Regions from separate parts of the Homo sapiens genome. Here region 2 is linked to region 1. The links are contacts of gene promoters, found by promoter capture Hi-C in blood cells and fetal thymus (Javierre and others, 2016). All regions are on one chromosome and are shown on one strand. Each heading gives the region's core, a stretch centred on a gene start or on the middle of the fragment in contact. The rest is flanking DNA. Distances are from core to core; before and after follow the strand shown. Region 1 holds the start of ABCA3 (ATP binding cassette subfamily A member 3). Region 2 overlaps MEIOB (meiosis specific with OB-fold).

Region 1 (5,178 bases), core at 49-2,548:
AAAGTGTGGGGGAGATTCCCATGACATCCATTTTTATCTATTTTTCCCTTTCTCTTACATTTCTCATGAGGCAAACTTTCTAAAACAGTCTTAGTCTTTTCAAGTTTACAAAAGGCAGCGCCCAGACTATCTGAATAAAATGACGGGATGCCCAGGAGAAGAGTGAACCTCTCCCACGTGCTCCCTGCCTGGGCTCCATGCTGTCGCGGGGTCTCGGCTACTCACTCAGCGGGCATTTCTGGAGTTCCAGGAACACAAACCCCAACAAGATCCAATCGACGCCTTCCCGGAGTGCACAGTCCAGGACGTAACCCGGAGAACAAGCGGCAATTACCCCCTGAGGACATGGCTTCATCTGTGCGACAGACACCAAGCGCCTTCCCCACGCCCCTGACCATAAGGCCGTCCCGGCCCTTCTGAAGCGTGGAGCCGGCTTGGAACAGAGCCAAGACACACGGACGCGATGCACACAGGCGTCCTGACCGAGGGCGCCGAGAACGCGGCCTCCGGCGACTGCCACAAGCCCCTCCGCCTGGACTAGCGGCTCCCCTTTCCCGTTCCCACACAGTGGAGGGCGCAGCAAACGCCCGCCGCGGACCGTGGGCCTTGGATTCGGATTTGGAGGCTCCTCGGAACCAGAGGGTGGGAGCAGGCGGAATCCAACCCGGGCGGCTTTGCCACCGCGCGCCCGGCATCCCTGCGGCCGGAAAGCGGCGCCATCTCCGCAAGTGCGCGGCGGACGCCTGCATCCCTCGGGGCCGGGGCTGTCGGTCGCTACATATCCACCTTCTGGGCGCACACAGAGGGCCCGGGCCGTGCCGAGTCTCCGCAGGGTCGAGCTTCCCCGCGCGGCGCGGGCTCAGGCACTGCCCGCAGTGCGGGACACGCCCAAGGCTCGGATGGGAGCCGACGCTGAGGGAGCGGCACCTGCAGGGAGCGCCCGGAGCCGAGGCCGCGGCAGGAGGGGCGGGCGCGGGCGCGGCCGGAGGGGATGCGGGGTCGCGGGAGGGGCCCGCAGGCCAGGCCGGAGCTGGGGGGGGCCCGAGGCCCGAGCTGGCCGGCGAGGGTGGGAAGGGCGGACCCGGGTGGGGACCGCAAGCCCCGGGAACGAGCGCGCGAGCGGCGGGTCCCGGCGGCACTCACCGAGCCTGGGCGCCGGGGCGGCGGCGGCCGGCGCGCGGCCCTCTCGCGGGGTCCCCTCCCTCGGCCACCCGGGCTCCGCTCCAGCCTCGCAGTGGCGGCGGCACTGACAGCTGCGTGGCCGCCCTGGAGGGGAGGGTGCGCCTGCAACCCGCTACTGGCGGACGCAGCGGCCGCTCCGGCTCCTGCAGGGGGCGCCGCGGATGGCGCGTGCGCAGTCGGCCGCCCCTGCAGGTGCCCGGTCCACCCCCGGCCGCCTCGGCCGCTCCGGCCAGCCCAACCCCGCGCCTGCGCGGTGCCCCCTGCATGTCGCCCATGCCCGGCAGAGGGCGCTCTGACTTGCGCGTGCGCAGTCAGCCACCCTGCGAGTACGCGGTTCGCACCCGGCCGCGCGGCAGCCCGTGCTTGCGCACTGCTCTGTGCCCGCGCCTATGTCCAGCAGGGGGCGCGCAGCGGCGGTAGCCGAGCGAGGGCGCGGTGGCCTCTGACAGGAATGACTCTGCGCACGTGCGTTTCGCAGCAGTGGAAGTCTTCACACCCGGAAACTCGACTTTGGCCGTTTCTCCATTTCTCCTCACGCACTGTCTTTCCTTGGGCCCTCGTCACTCCTGGCACCGGGGGAAGGGCTTCCCCGCCTCTGGCCGGGCGCTGGGGCGCGACCGAAGGCGAGGCGGCGGCGAGGAACCTTCTGGAATTCGGCCGTCGGGGCAGGCGTCGAGTTTACAGGAGAAGGCGCGGTGTCCCGGGATGAGCGGAGTCGCCCTCACTTAAGGAGCGAGGGAGGCCTCGGGGGTCCCCAGCCGGGTAGGAGTCACCTCAGGCAGGAGGGCCCGGCCTTGTCGGGGTCACCTGGCGGGAGGGTCCCGGGGTGGGGCGGGGCCGCCTGTGAGGAGGGTCCAGAGAGGGTCGGGGTCACCTGAGGGGAGGGTGGGGGGGTTCGGGGATGGTTGGGGTCACCCGACGGGATGGTCCGGGGAGGGTCGGGTTCACCTGAGGGGAGGGTCGGGGAGGGTCCGGAGAGGGTCGGGGTCACCTGAGGAGGTGGTCCGGAGAGGGTCGGGGTCACCTCACGGAGCGAGCGGAACGGGGTCACCTGGAGGGAGTGTCCAGGGCGGGGGCCCTGCAGGGAGTCGCCTGCAGGGAGGGTCCCGGGCGTGTCACATTAGGCGGTCCCAGGGACGGGTCGCGGTCTAACGGGACGGGAGTGGGGAGGTGGGTCGGGGTGTCCCTGGGCCGGACCGGGTCGTGGGACTGGGTCGCCCCAGGCAGGAGAGCCTGGGAGGGGCGGGCCCCCTTGGCGTGGCAGGGAGAGGTGGAGTGAGGGACTCCCGGGCTCCAGCATGAGGGCGGGCGCCGCGCGGGGCCGACAGTTGCCGCGGGCCGGGGCCAATGGGTCCCCGAGCGCCGCCAGCGGCCGGACCACAGTGAGGTGCGTCCGTGGTCCCGGCGCCCCGGGTGAGGGAGGGCTGCTGCCGGTCCTGCCGCTGGGAGCCGCCTGCGACCCGCACCGCCAGCCCCGCGCCCAGCCAGCCGCCGGCACCACGACCCGACGGCCCCGACCTAATGCAACGCCCCGGGCCGGGGGCGGAAATCGCCCACCCCCAAGAGTCCTGATGGAGTAGGGTTTGAGCGGCTCGTTCCCCATTTTACTGTGTACATAGCACCTTTCACTCTGATGATGTTCTGGATAGCCCATTCCGCGAGCAAAGGGACTTCGTCAGGTTCATGCCTAGATCCAGGGTCCTAGAGTGCCTGGGGCGGAGGAGGCTCATGCTAAATAATTTGTTCAGTGGAATCACAGAGACCTGGCTTCAGATCTTGACCCACCAATTAATGTAGACATGTCATTTTATCTTTCTGAGTCTCAATTTCCTATCCCTAAAATTGAAATTATAATAATAGTAATTAATAATAATAGCAAACTCAAAGGTTTTTTGTTGGTGTATTCTTTTCTTTTTTGGGTCAAATGAGAAAATGCATGTTTAAGTGCTTACTACAATACCTGACACATAAATGCCAAATAAATGGTAGTATATAATGTGAGTATAGCTAGGGATTTACATAGCCTAGTCTCCGTAATGAGCATACAGGGGGAAAAAAAACCCCAAACAATTGAATGCAGTTACAGGATGGGTGGGGGAGTGGATTATTAATGCGCTGCAAACATCCTAAAAACCCCCTTTCCCCATCAGTCTTCACAGACTGCAACACCCCATCCAAAATGTCTTCCCCATTCTCTGCTTCGTCCCAGAAAATGATGTGAACTTGGCTGCTTGGCCCTGTCTTCACCCGGTCATATCCTCAGTCATTTTTCTTTCCAAAACCAATCCTTGCCATTTCCAAATTGAATTTGTTAGACCTTGCACGTTTTTCCGGCCTTTTCAAAACTGGATCCCAATTCTCTGTAACCAAATCCAGTACCAGAACTGGCTGACTCAGAATTTACCTTAGATGGAAGATAGGGTAGGAATTTTGGAAGAAGGATGACCTTACAGATCAAGACAGACAATTGCAGGGTACTAATTTTATATCTTTTTTCTTAACTCTGCCAGGTTAATTGTTAATTATTATAATCACAATCATGAGGTGGGAGGGTGTGAAGGCCACTGGGAAAAGTATCTTATGCCCAAAAATTTCAGGCTCTGAACTGTTAAAAAACAGTTGCCCACAGTGAGCTGGACCCTTTTGATGCCCTTCAACAATCCCTGGATAATTCATCACATTGTGCTCAAGGCCCACTACTGAAAAAATAAAGCAAACCTAGATGCTCCACCTAGTCATTTCTTTCCAGATGGAGGCCCAGATAAGGTCATAATTTCTTCAGAGTCACCCAGTAGAGCTGAGATGACAACCTCCGTGTTCAGGCTCCTGGACTCTACCCCTCTCTTATATGGAAACACTCACATCCATATACCATGAATACATGCTGAGAAATTGAAGGATACACTCCTTGAAGTTACTATGGTTCAAACATTTCTTTTCTCTCAAGATTGATGGTAAACATTATAGTGGATGGTGACACTCATAAACAAATCTTACAGCTTCACAAAAGGCAGTAAACCTAGCCATTATACTAGTCGGCTAGATATAATTAAACCAATAAGCTCCCAATTCTTTGAAGGGGTACAAATACTATACCCTATCTATCTATCTATCTATCTATCTATCTATCTATCTATCTATCTATCTATCTGTCTATCTATTGTATCGTACAACAGTACCCAAATTGCTGATATTCAATACAGTATCTTAGAATAGGGCTTCTTTGATTGTTTCCCTGGGAATGATGTTATAATTCAGAGACGCATTGTAGACCAAGGGCTGTACACATATTCTTTCATTCAGTGATTGGGAAGCATTATATTGTAATGGTTAAAACTGAACTCTGGCCATATTGCCTCAGATTAAATTCCAGCTCTTAATGTCTTTAGGCAAATTACTGGACCTTTCTGTGCCTTGGTTTCCTAGTATAAAATGAGGATTGTATAACAATTCCTCACAGAATTGTTGTGAGGATTAGATGCATTAAAACATGTAAAGTACAGGACTTAGAAAAGTCCTTGGCATTCGGCAAGGGCTCAATAAGTGATCTAAGCATTATACTGTATGCTTTGGAAACAAACGCATGAACATTTTTTTTTTTTGAGACGGTGTTTCACTCTTGTGGCCCAGGCTGGAGTGCAATGGCGCAATCTCGGCCCACTGCAGCCTCCGCCTCCCGGGGTCAAGCGATTCTCCTGCCTCAGCCTCCCAAGTAGCTGGGATTACAGGCATGCGCTGCCATGCCTGGCTAATTTTGTATTTGTAGTAGAGACGGGGTTTCTTCATGTTGATCGGGCTGGTCTCGAACTCCCGACCTCAGGTGATCCACCACCTCGGCCTCCCAAAGTGCTGGGATTACAGGCATGAGCCACTGCACCCGGCCCAACAAATGAAATTTATGTGTTTTGAAGGATCTCACAAAACAGAGTTGCTTAATTCGATTTAGTTTTCACTGTGTGCTTACTATATGCCAGATGAAACTTGAAATAAAAATGT
Region 2 (4,884 bases), core at 837-3,336, 480 kb before region 1:
CTTACATGAACTATCATAAGCATGTGTGTTTTTTCCTTTTTTTTTTTTTTTGTCTCTTGACTATCATCCCTCTCTATATTAAGAAATTACTCTTGCCTCTTTATTTATTTATTTATCAACCCAGAATCTCGCTCTGTCGCCCAGGCTGGAGTGCAGTGGCGCCATCTCAGCTCATTGCAACCTCTGTCTCCTGGGTTCAAGTAATTCTCCTGCCTCAGCCTCCTGAGTAGCTGGGACTCCAGGTACCTGCCACCATGCCCAGCTAATTTTTTTTTTTTGAGACGGAGTCTCGTTCTGTCGCCCAGACTGGAGGGCAGTGGTACGATCTCGGCTCACTGCAACCTCCACCTTCCAGGTTCAAGTGATTCTCCTGACTCAGCCTCCCAAGTAGCTGGGACTGCAGGAACCTGTCACCATGCCCAGCTAATTTTTTTTTTTTTTTGAGTCGGAGTCTCGCTCTGTCGCCCAGGCTGGAGTGCAGTGGCGCAATCTTGGCTCACTGCAAGCTCTGCCTCCCGGGTTCACGCCATTCTCCTGCCTCAGCCTCCTGAGTAGCTGGGACTACAGGCGCCCACCACCTCACCTGGCTAATTTTTTGTATTTTTAGTAGAGACGGGGTTTCACCGTGTTAGCCAGGATGGTCTCGATCTCCTGACCTCGTGATCCTCCCGCCTCAGCCACCCAAAGTGCTGGGATTACAGGCGTGAGCCACCGCACCAGGCCACCCAGCTAATTTTTGTATTTTTAGTGGCGATGGTGTTTCACCATATTGGCCAGGCTGGTCTCGAACTCCTGACCTTGTGATCCACCCGCCTCAGCCTCCCAAAGTGCTAGGATTACAGGCATGAGCCACCACGCCAGGCCTTTTTTTTTTTTTTTTTTTTTTGAGACAGGGTCTCCCTCTATTGCCCAGGCTGGAGTGCAGTGGCATGATTTTGGCTCACTGCAACCTCAACCTCCCAGGCTCAGGTGATCCTCCCACTTCAGCCTCCCAAGCAGCTGAGATTACAGGTACACACCACCACATCCGGCTAATTTTTGTATTTTTTGTAGAGATGGAGTTTCACCATGTTGCCCCAGGCTGGTCTTGAACTGGGCTCAAGTGATCCCTCTGCCTTGGTCTCCCAAAGTGCTAGGATCACAGGTGTAAGCCACTGTGCCTGGACTAATTTTCATGTACTTTATTTTGTGAAACTTTACCGTTGAGGTCTACATCTCAATCTCCGCCTTGTGGCTCTGGTCTGTCCAACTACAGAGCTCAGAACTTGCTACAGTAATTCAGACAGACGCTGATGCACCAGAAGGGAACACCCCCCTGGTGCCCCACGGAGGGCCATCCTCCCGTGCACCTCACCAGCATGGTCCCACTGCACCTATTAGACCATGGAGCCCTACAGCAGGGCAGCGTGTATTCCCACTCCCTCCCTGGTTGCTGGGCAGCTCTGAGCACAAAGGCACAGAACTGATCCCTTAACTTATTCAACTACGCCCCTTCAAGGAAGGTCATGGAGATTTTCGAGTCAATAAGCTTACCCTTTCCATTTACATCTTTGTTTAAGCAATGTATAAAAAGTTCTCCTATAGTTAGCAGATCATTTACGAGCAGAGTGGAACACTGCATTTAGCATTCAAATACAATTTTATTTTACTACTCATCCACAGATAAAAAGCTAGTTTCCCTTTAATGAGAAGTGTTACTGTTTTCTTAATTCAGCATACTACCAAGATAGAGAAGAAAAGTTACCCCAGCTGATCGTGACCACTCCATCCCAAACACAGATCAAGTGACTGCACCTCCCCTGCCAGATTGCACTTGGCTTTGTCGGGGTTTTAACTTACCGATTTCACAGCTGCAAGCACGTTAATAATCCTCCCATTAAGACTGTGTCCATTTGCAACAATGTCACCCAGTGAATAATAATCATGAGACTCTTTAACAGGTAAATGTATCAAAGAAAGTAACTTTGTGTCCACTTCATAACTGGAACAAACTTTTACTGTTGAGTGATTCTCACTGAGCAACAGTTTACAGTTGCTAAATTGCAAAAACACAAGAAAGTTATTTGAAAGTGATCTTTGGAAAGAAAAATATTTCCAGGTCCACATTTAAACTACATTTTTCATTGAAATTTAGACAATACTAATATATACTTTTTACTCTTAGAAACATTGAATAATACAGCAAAACATTTTTTGTTTACAGTGCACTTTCATTAAGGAAATGTTTTGAGAATTGATTCGTGTCGGGGTTCTAAACATACCATTTGTCTGATCTTGCCCAAGACTCTGCGCTTGTTTCCTTCTCCAAAAAAATAGGAGCAAAAAAGCGCTCTGAAACTTTCAGGGGTTATACAAACCCAAGGACTGGTTGTTTCTCTCTCTTATGGACCTGGCTGTTCTGCCTTAGTGCCTCAGGTCAGGGACTGTGTTTTTCCTACCCCTACTGAGCTCTGCATGGAGCAGACGCAGAACACTGGCACAGTGAGCCCGAACTGAGGAGCTCTCCCTCCTGCACCGAGTCCCTCCCGGCCCTTGCACTCTGTGCCCCAGCAGTCCTCTAACCCAGCCCCACCTCCTCCCCACTGCTCGGCCTCACTTACCTACCTCATCACTTCTCTCCCAAGCCACTGCCTTGCTATCCTAACTAAGCTTCATTCCCCTACAGTCCATCCTCCATAAGCAAAGTGATCTTCCTAAACCACAAATATGAAAATATTATTTCCCAGCTCAAAGACCATCATTGTGGCTACCAGTCACAAAGGAAATAACTCAGTATGAAAGCAAAGCTGTCTGTAAAATATCTCTGCTTCCACCTTAAGCTTCTCCTCCTGCCCGTGCCCTGCATTCCAGCCGTATCAGACTATTACATTATGAAATTGGTATTTCTAGATGAAAAATAGTAAAACATCAGCAGTTTCATATGGCTCAAACTAATATTAACTGTTCTGGAAAAGACAGGAGGTTTCCTGTTTCTTCCCTCTACCAAGAATATTCTCTCCATCTAACCATCCATCCATCACTTCCATGAATACTGAGAATCTGTTATATACCAGACCCTATGCTAGGCACAAGGGATATGGTGGTGAAGAAGGCAGACAAGACCTTTGATCTCATGAGGCTCACATATGTGAGGGGGAGACCCAAGAACAATGAATCAAACAATCTCAGACGGTGACTTGGGTTATGCTGACAAAAGCCAGGGCAAAATCCCAGTAATTGACCATTAGCGCTACCACAAACAGAGTAGATGGGGAAGGTTGAAGAAGATGACATTTAAGCTGTGAGTCAATAACCCAAAGAAGCAAATAGTCAAACAGATGGGAGAAAGTTCTATGCAGAGAGAGAATAGAAAATACAAAAGTTTGGCCAGGCGCGGTGGCTCACGCCTGTAATCCCAGCCCTTTGGGAGGCCGAGGCGGGCGGATCACTTGAGGTCAGGAGTTCGACACCAGCCTGGCCAACATAGCAAAACCCCGCCTCTACTAAAAATACAAAAATTAGCTGGGTGTGGGGCGTGTGCCTGTAATCACAGCTACTTGGGAGGCTGAGGTGGGAGAATGGTTTGAACCCAGGAGTTAGAGGTTACAGTGAGCCGAGATCGTGCCACTGCACTCCAGCCTGGGCAACAGAGTGGGACTCTGTCTCAGTAAAAAATAAAAAATAAAAATAAAAGGAAATACAAACGTTCTTAGTGCAGAATGAGTTCACGGTGTTCATGAAATATAAAGAAATTCACTGTGGCTACAGAGAAATGAGGCTTGAGAGTCTGGCATAAGATGAGGTCAGAAAAGAAGGTGGGAACGGGTCACAGTTGATGCGAGTGTAAATGCTGTAGACTGCTGTGCCCACCAAGAGCCCTTTACAGGCTGGTACAGGGCACAGCTACACCCTTCTCTCCAGAACTGCCAGACCCGCCTTTGAGCTGATGCCCCGCCCCATCCTGCGGGTTTGGGGAGTGGATGGACTACAGCCAGGGCACTGCTCTAAGGGGCCACTCCCACTCCAGAGCTCCCTCCCGGCTCCTGCTGAGGCTCCAGGTGAACCCACTTCTCTGCTCAGCTGCTTCCTGGTCTATCCTCGCAGGGTTCCCCTGAGAGCTCACCCTCAACCAACCACTCCCACAAGAGTCCTCCTCTCAAGCTCTGCTTCGAAGGAATCTGCCCTAAGATGGTAAGCCTGTGAGTAGAAGGATACCTTGACATGAAAAAAGACAGATGTAATTTCCAAAGTTTATCTTTTCTCCTCATTCAGTTTTAACATGACAAAGTCAAATTTTTGTAAATCTAAGAATGAGAATCAAAGTACTAAAACCAAAGCCATTTATCATGTGACTCTGTATCAAAGTAAATTATGTCATAATCAAAGATGAATTTTGTAAGAGAAAATTAAACTCCTCATTTTTATTGAAATAGAAACAGAACACTTTTAGTAAGATCTCTGCTAATCTGATACAACATTATTAGTAATGATCATTCTCGCACAATCTCTGTGCTAGACAGATGCTTACCTAGGAGTTGCAGGGCTGAATTTTTCTTCTCTTTCTATTTCCTTTCTTTGGATCAGAGGATTTTCAATTATCACTAAAACAGAGGGCAAAGTATGATGATATTACAAAACAGTAACAAGATAAACACTAACATCCTAAATAACATCCTGTTTAATTTATGATCATCATCGACTCTAGGCTTTAAAAATTCCTCACCTCATTCATCTTCTCCATCATCAACATATAACATATTTTGATACTGAGATGTCAAAATTGAAATCTTTATCTCCATATGTAACTAATATTCCAGCATTTATTCAAGGGATGTCTATAGCTATACTGGGCCCTATGAAGTTTGTGAAGCTTTCTGCCTTCATAGTCCATATGTTCAATGACCC

Evidence for each region. Contacts are between HindIII fragments. The CHiCAGO score rates a contact against its expected background, and 5 or more counts as called.
Region 2: a contact is called between a fragment that was not itself captured here and the fragment with the promoter of ABCA3 in region 1, in 1 of 17 cell types (M2 macrophages). The highest score is 5.1, in M2 macrophages.

Annotation. Positions count from the first base shown.
Region 1 is chr16:2,339,430-2,344,607 of GRCh38, forward strand. ABCA3 (ATP binding cassette subfamily A member 3) reads right to left here and starts at 1,299. Exons shown (of 33, transcript NM_001089.3): 1 at 1,144-1,299. It also overlaps the pseudogene ABCA17P. RefSeq lists silencers at 920-979, 1,150-1,609. The HindIII fragment of the contact is 6,638 bases long and covers 1-5,178 here.
Region 2 is chr16:1,855,896-1,860,779 of GRCh38, forward strand. It overlaps MEIOB (meiosis specific with OB-fold), which reads right to left. Exons shown (of 14, transcript NM_001163560.3): 5 at 4,508-4,580; 6 at 1,840-2,035. Among named protein-coding and RNA genes, the nearest start is that of MEIOB, 14 kb to the right of the region's middle. The HindIII fragment of the contact is 1,121 bases long and covers 1,527-2,647 here.